2 separate regions of the Homo sapiens genome follow, and region 2 is linked to region 1. Evidence: promoter capture Hi-C in 16 types of primary human blood cells and fetal thymus (Javierre and others, 2016). All regions are on one chromosome and are shown on one strand. Each heading gives the region's core, a stretch centred on a gene start or on the middle of the fragment in contact. The rest is flanking DNA. Distances are from core to core; before and after follow the strand shown. Region 1 holds the start of ADH7 (alcohol dehydrogenase 7 (class IV), mu or sigma polypeptide). Region 2 overlaps STPG2 (sperm tail PG-rich repeat containing 2).

Region 1 (3,355 bases), core at 604-3,103:
GGAAATTACAGTTGCATGGGTGCTTTGAGGTAATCATTAAAGGCTTTTGTAAACTTTGGGAGTAGGACCAGGCTCACAGTAACTAGGAGATTGAGTACCCTGAGGGTTCTGGCCCCAGAATTTCATAGAAATATGGTGTTTAGAAGAAAGAAGTCATCTGTTAAATTCTCTAAACCTAAAATTAAGACTTAGCTGCTATATATCCAAACTGACCCATTTTTTTTATTACCTTCCAAGATTCAGCTTTTGGCACTTTATCATCCAATCAAGTTTCATGGAGACTGGATTAGGACCATAAGACTTATTCAGATATTAAGCCTCACATGATACATTATTTTTTGTAAAAAAATTTTAGATTAATATGATACAAAGTTTTGCCAAGCCCTTAAGAGGGAGTTTATCAATTCAGCGCTTTTGCATTTATGCTGTCACCACCCATGTTTGAACTCATTTTCTTTTGTTCATAAGTAAACAAGTTTTTGTTTGAAAGTCGAGACTAAGAATACCTGTCCTTGTCCACACCTGTTTAACTTTGTCTTATAGTGCCAGCAAACATACTGGAGTTCTTCAGCACTACTGCTAAAGCAATGGTGCTTACTCACAAGCCAAATCAACTGGCAATGGTTTTTCCTGGTGGATTTGATTTGGTTAATGAGTTGTAGTAACAAATTCTAATTACAAATTCTGAATTTGACATAATATATGTTAAATTGGATGTACATTTACTATGTTATATTGAAAGAGAGATGTGTGGAAAAAATGTATACTTATTTTTGAAAAGAAACTTTTGTTTGTATCTGAAAAATAAACTCTTAGCAAATTTCATCTCTGGGTTGTTAAGAGTCCAGGTTCTGGACTTCATAGCTTGAACAGCTTTGTCTGAAGACTTAGAAAACCTGCTTCACTGGATCACTTAACAAAAGTAAAATATCCTTTGTGTAAAGTTTTCTTGGAGGTGATGGTGTACCAGTATGCTGACCATCTGGTGTACCAGTATGCTGACCATCTACTGTCAAAAATAACATCTATACTGGACATTCTCCTATCAAATAATAGATCCAGAAGCTTCTGGAGCCATTGCAACTTATATTAAGAAATAATGGTCTGTAATGGTTAAACAGCTACTCAAGAAGACCTAGGTACTTGCCCAAGTAGATGAAAACCCTCTGGCATTCGATAGCCAGTATGCAGGCTGGATTTCAATTTCTCTTGAGCCCCTGCACTGTGTTACATTGGTGCCGTAAACAAACTGTACAACCATATGAGGCAACTCTGTGGTTAATGGGATTTGGAGTCAGATGATAATTTCTCTAAGTGCAGACACAGAAAGTTTCACTTAACTTTCTACACCTAAAATACTTAGAAACCATAGTCATCCATATTGATATTTTATATCATCTCAACTTCTCTTGCCCAAACTTGACCTACTGTTGCAATTATTTTACATTTCCTTGGCTCTGTTTTCATTTATATTTAATTCCAGAAACCACATCAAGTCTTTGCAGAATGAAGTAGAGCATTAAGAAGTAGAGATGTACACACGCATCTCTAAAATCAGCCATGCCTAGGCAAAGCAGCTTGCACTTAAACACCCAATACATTTTTCATGATTGTGTTGAAGTGAAGTAACCTAACCCGTTTTTATATCCTTCAAAATAAGGTGGATAGGAATGCTTTCAGCCCTTTTCAATAGCTTTGATTATCTTGTTTTTGTTAGATCCCTCCTCTTGGTTTGATCATAGTAGTTACTGTATTTCTTTTTATAAGTTGGTCTGCAAAGGGTAGGGCTTGCAGACCATTGCAAAGTTGTGACGGCTGTGAGTCATATTGCTGAAGGTGGAACTCTGAAGCCAGACTATCTATGTGAAGGCACAAGCTGCTGTTATATACAACAGAGTGAACTGAGCATCAGTCAGAAAAAGTCTATGTTTGCAGAAATACAGATCCAAGACAAAGACAGGATGGGCACTGCTGGAAAAGTAAGTGGAACATTTCTGTCCCCTCCTCATCATGACCTAATGATGTGAGGCTGATACTTAGAACTTTGAATCCATTAAAGTAATTAAACACTTGGAGATATTCCTTGAGGAATGAAATGCTTGGTGAGCAGGCATACAGTGAGGGAAACACTGGATATGGTGTTTCAGAGAATGTCAGTGGAAGCAGGGGTAAGTTGGAAATAGTATATCCAATGTCAGCAAGACATTGGTGGAAAATAGAGAAATTGATTTATATTGGCATTATTCATAATTTGATTTCCGGATAGCTGGGCAATTGCTCCAGGAAGCCAAATGTTTCCACAAGGACACTTCAATCGTCTCAGTAGCATGTGCTGCACTCGCTGCAGTAGTTCAATGGGAAACCAGGGTCTCATGCCCAGATGTTGGAAGAAACGTTCCTGCCATTAAGAATGGAAAATGCTAATTCTGGGATGCAAAATGGCCAAGAAAGTGTCATGAATTTTAGGTTTCTTACAAATGTAATTTTTATCAAAATATATATTTAAAAATTCTTTAAAATCAAGACTATATTATTGGTAAAGTATGTTTATCGTTCTAAAAACAACAGAGTTAGCAGAGTTGGTATTAACTTTAGAAACAGCTTTGCTTTGTTTTTTTTTATTTGAAAATAGGTCAGTATATTTCCTTACTTTAAATGGGTACATAATTGCTTAAAGGACTAAATTTTTTTGTTTGTTTTGTTTTAACTTGAACAATTTTGCATTTAGCTTGCTTAAGGTTTTGGAAAAATAAAGATGACATGAGAAGTCTGGGTAATGTGACAAGTCAGGAGACTCTATGATGTTAGAATTTGAAATAAGTTTTACTAGAATTGGATAGAACTGGAATAAAACCATCCTAATTTGGGTCAGAAATCCAGCAAAACTAGATTACTTGGGAAGTTAATTTTGCACTACAGAAACTAGCAACTCTACCCATGGATATTAATGAATCTTAGAACTGAAAGGAATCTTAAAAATTTGCAACTTTTACCACCCAACAGATGCTTCAGGTCTGGTTACACTATTTCTAGGAAGTCGATATTCATCCACTGTAAGAACATTTCTGATGATGGAGAAAGTAGCCTCAAGGCAGCACTTTCCAATTAATAATACAGTATATAATATATAAAGAGTATAAAAGTTATATGATTTTGATATATGGTCATGCAATAGTGTGGTTTGCCTAAGGATTATATATTTCCCAACTTTCTGTAGTGTTCCAGTGTAGCTCTTGAAAGGAGTTTCCCTTTACATTGGGATTGATTTTTTCTCTTTATAATAAATGTTTTCTTTTTCATTAAAAAAGTAAAAGATAACTGTATTAGTTTCCTAGGGCTTCCATAACAAAATATC
Region 2 (3,355 bases), core at 441-2,940, 1.3 Mb after region 1:
TTTATTGGTTCATCATTTGGTCTTTATACTTAGTCAAGTATAAGCTTATTTTAACAAGCATAAACAACTATATACTTTGTTAAGTATAACACTGTAATTTCGTGTTTGGGAATTTACCTGATGTTCTATTATACTGTGGCTAAGCTAGCACTCAAACTATAATATGAAGTCCTTCTTGACCTACACTCCCCTTTCCACAGGCAGAGGAGCCTCTCCCTGTGTCCACTACCACCACTGATCCATGGGGGTTTGAGGTGGAGGGGTTGTGCTAGGCCACTGCCAATGTTCACTTAAAGCCCAAGGGCTCTTCTGTCAGTTTGTGATGAATGCTGCCTGGCCTGGGACACACCCTTCAGGTCAGTGGGCTCCCCTCTGACCCAGGGCAGGTCCAGAAATGCTGTCCAAGAGCCTAGGCCTGGACTCGGGGACCCCAAAAGCCTGCTTGTTGCTCTACTCCACTGGTCGAGTTGGTGCGAGACAAAGTCCCCTTTACTCTGCTTTTTAAAAACAGAATGAGTCTTTCACTGTAGCCACCACAGCTGGGAATGTGCTGGGTTGTCACTGAAGCCAGCACATTTCAGAACCCAAGGCACAAGGCAAACTCCCTAGTTATCACTGCTGATTATTCAGGGCCCAAGGGCTCTTTAGTCAGCAGGTAATGAATCATGCCTTTGCTTCAAGGCAGCAGGTTTCCTTTTGGCCCAGGGTGTGTCTAGAAATATCATTCAGGAGCTAGGGCCTGGAATGGAGGCTTCACAACTCTGCTCAATACTCTATCCAAAGTCCTCTTTACTCTTCACTCTCTTTAAGCAGAAGGAAGGAGTCACTTTCATTGCTATAAGCTGCACTGCCTGGGATTGTGGGAGGCACGGCACAAGCTCTCCTTTAGCTGCACCAGCTGGTATCTCCCTAGGTCCTGTGCTATCCTAGCTTCCTGGCTCTAAACCCAGTCTACTACTATGAATTGCCTAGAAATTGCAGTCCTTCTGTCCTAGACTGTCTTTCAAGTTTACTTAGGACCCCAGAGCACTTCACTCCGTGTAACAAGACTTCCTGAGAAACTCTAGTTCCAACCACTGGGATGGGTGATTCCCCTCTGGCTAGGGCTAGTCCAAATGCTCCTTCTATGCATGGGTGCTGGCTGAGCTCAGCATGGCTTTATTCTCCACTCTGACAGGGCAGCACCAAGTTCAATGTAAAGTCCCCCAATTGCTGTGCTTTGCCTCTCCAAAATGTACTGATTCTGTCTCTGTGCTGCATGGCTACAGTTGGGGGATGGGGAAGGAGTGACATCGATGATTCAAGACTATATCCCCTGCCTTCCTCAATGCCTCTTTTAGCGTTATGAAGTCAAAACCATGTACTGTGATTGCCACCTGGGTTTTGGTATTTGTGACGGTGCTTTTCTTCATGTAGATAGTTGTTAAAATTTTGTGTTCCAGCAGGAGAGATGAATGGTGTAGGCTTCTATTCCATCATCTTTATCCCCCTCCTATAGTATCTTTGGATTTAAGCATTTTCTGATATTGCAACAAAATGTGTAATAATATGAATATAATATTTTAATCAATGTGAGTTTTTTAAATCATAACTGTCCTTGAATTTACTTAATTTGTACATGTAGTATTGTTTTAATATATCTTTTGAATATTTATGACATTATAATTTACTGAGAATTCCTGTTAAAAAACACAAATATTAACTTTTATGCAACCTGAATAGTTCACTAAGGAATGTCTTGCCTTTGGCAATGAAAAATTTTTTAGTATCTTTCTTAATATTAACAAAGTCTTTAAGATAAATCTTTACTATGCAAAAACATTTGGTAATTGTTTCTATTGAAGTTCTTTAATTTGGTAATACAAAATATATGAAGTTGCTGTGTTAGCTTTGTATTAGGTCAAATAACTGAGTACAGTTTCACTAGGTGGCGCCAATACTTTGGCTCTTTATTGACATAACACCTTATTTATTCATTCATTTCTCAAATTCATTAAAACAAATGCCTAAAAATTATGTGGCAAGATACGAAAATTTGCCTTGAAGTTCATTTGAGCAAATCCTAAACTGGAAATTTTAGTTCTTTTGGCAGTTCTGCCAAATGAAAATACCTTGGAACTATTTAAAAATATTATTTAGATTCTAGCTGCAAACTAAGTTATTTCTATTCATCTATATAAATTTATCAAAATTATTAGACTTTTAAAAGTTATATTAAAAGATGTTATTTATAGACTAGGTTATTCTCTTGATTAGTATAAAATTTTAGGTTACATAAAATAATTTACTAATATAGATCTTAAATAGAAAGTTTTAGTTTCAAATAAGTAAAATTATGCTAAACAGGTTAATAATAAGGACATGAAAGGGAGAAATAATTTAAAACTTTCTGTGTTTTTTTCTTTAATGGGTGGATTATTCCATTAATTTCAATGTAAACATTTTTACTTTCTTCCTTATCATTGTTAGTCTTTAATATTTATTAAATTATCTGGTTACTTGGCTTTATAACAGGCACTTGGCAATTTATTACTGTTAGTAATATGTGGTAGTGGCCTTGGTTTTGAGGGTGAACAGAGACTTAAGAAGACTTGCACATAATTAAACACGCTTTTCCCCCCAAACCTAAATTAGTTGTTCATGTTACAGTTACTGTATCTCAAATTCTGATTGCTCACTTTTCCCATTTTCTAAGGAAAGTTTTTCAATTTTTAAATTATGGATTTTAAAGAAGTGAAAAAAGTGTCAATAAAGATGGAAGGGTTGAATTATTAAAAGATAAATGGACAAAATTATATGTGAGAGAAGGAGTGAGGAAGAGATTGAAAATATTTAGTTATTGCTTAAACAATAATTCAGTATCTTTTGGGAGAGCACCTTATCTCTTCAAGTCTTATTGTAAAATAGTTTGTACTGCACTGAGTGAGTTTTATATACCAAAGTCATACTCATTCATGGTAAAATTTTAAGATGTGTATAAAATAAATAAAACCTTTTGTATTTATTTATGGTTTAGTGGTAAAGAATTCAGACTTTGGAATCACACTGCATTCAATTTCTTGCTCCATCACATACTAGGTGTGTGATATTTTGCTATTCTAAGCCTCAATATTCTTCCTTTTAAGTCTCTAAAATATGAATAATAATACTCTACAAAAAGGTTATTGTGAGAATCCAATGATATCTGAATATATATGTATATACACACAATGCTTAACACAGTGTCTGACATTTGTTAATATTCAGTAAATGATAGTTATTATTACTCAATGAACAATTAATTGAACACCTATTATATGCTGTGGATAGAAAGATGATGAATAGGGCAAAGCTTCTTGAATCAAGGAGTTCACAT

What was found. The method cuts DNA at HindIII sites, captures the fragments that hold promoters and counts their contacts. A CHiCAGO score of 5 or more calls a contact.
Region 2: a fragment that was not itself captured here is called in contact with the fragment with the promoter of ADH7 in region 1 in 1 of 17 cell types (M2 macrophages); the score reaches 5.9 in M2 macrophages.

Annotation. Positions count from the first base shown.
Region 1 is chr4:99,433,840-99,437,194 of GRCh38, reverse strand. ADH7 (alcohol dehydrogenase 7 (class IV), mu or sigma polypeptide) reads left to right here and starts at 1,853. Exons shown (of 9, transcript NM_000673.7): 1 at 1,853-1,979. The coding sequence starts at 1,962. RefSeq lists a promoter at 1,367-1,940. The HindIII fragment of the contact is 5,841 bases long and covers 1,068-3,355 here.
Region 2 is chr4:98,091,615-98,094,969 of GRCh38, reverse strand. All of the region lies in intron 5 of STPG2 (sperm tail PG-rich repeat containing 2), which reads left to right. Among named protein-coding and RNA genes, the nearest start is that of STPG2, 50 kb to the left of the region's middle. The HindIII fragment of the contact is 3,287 bases long and covers 47-3,333 here.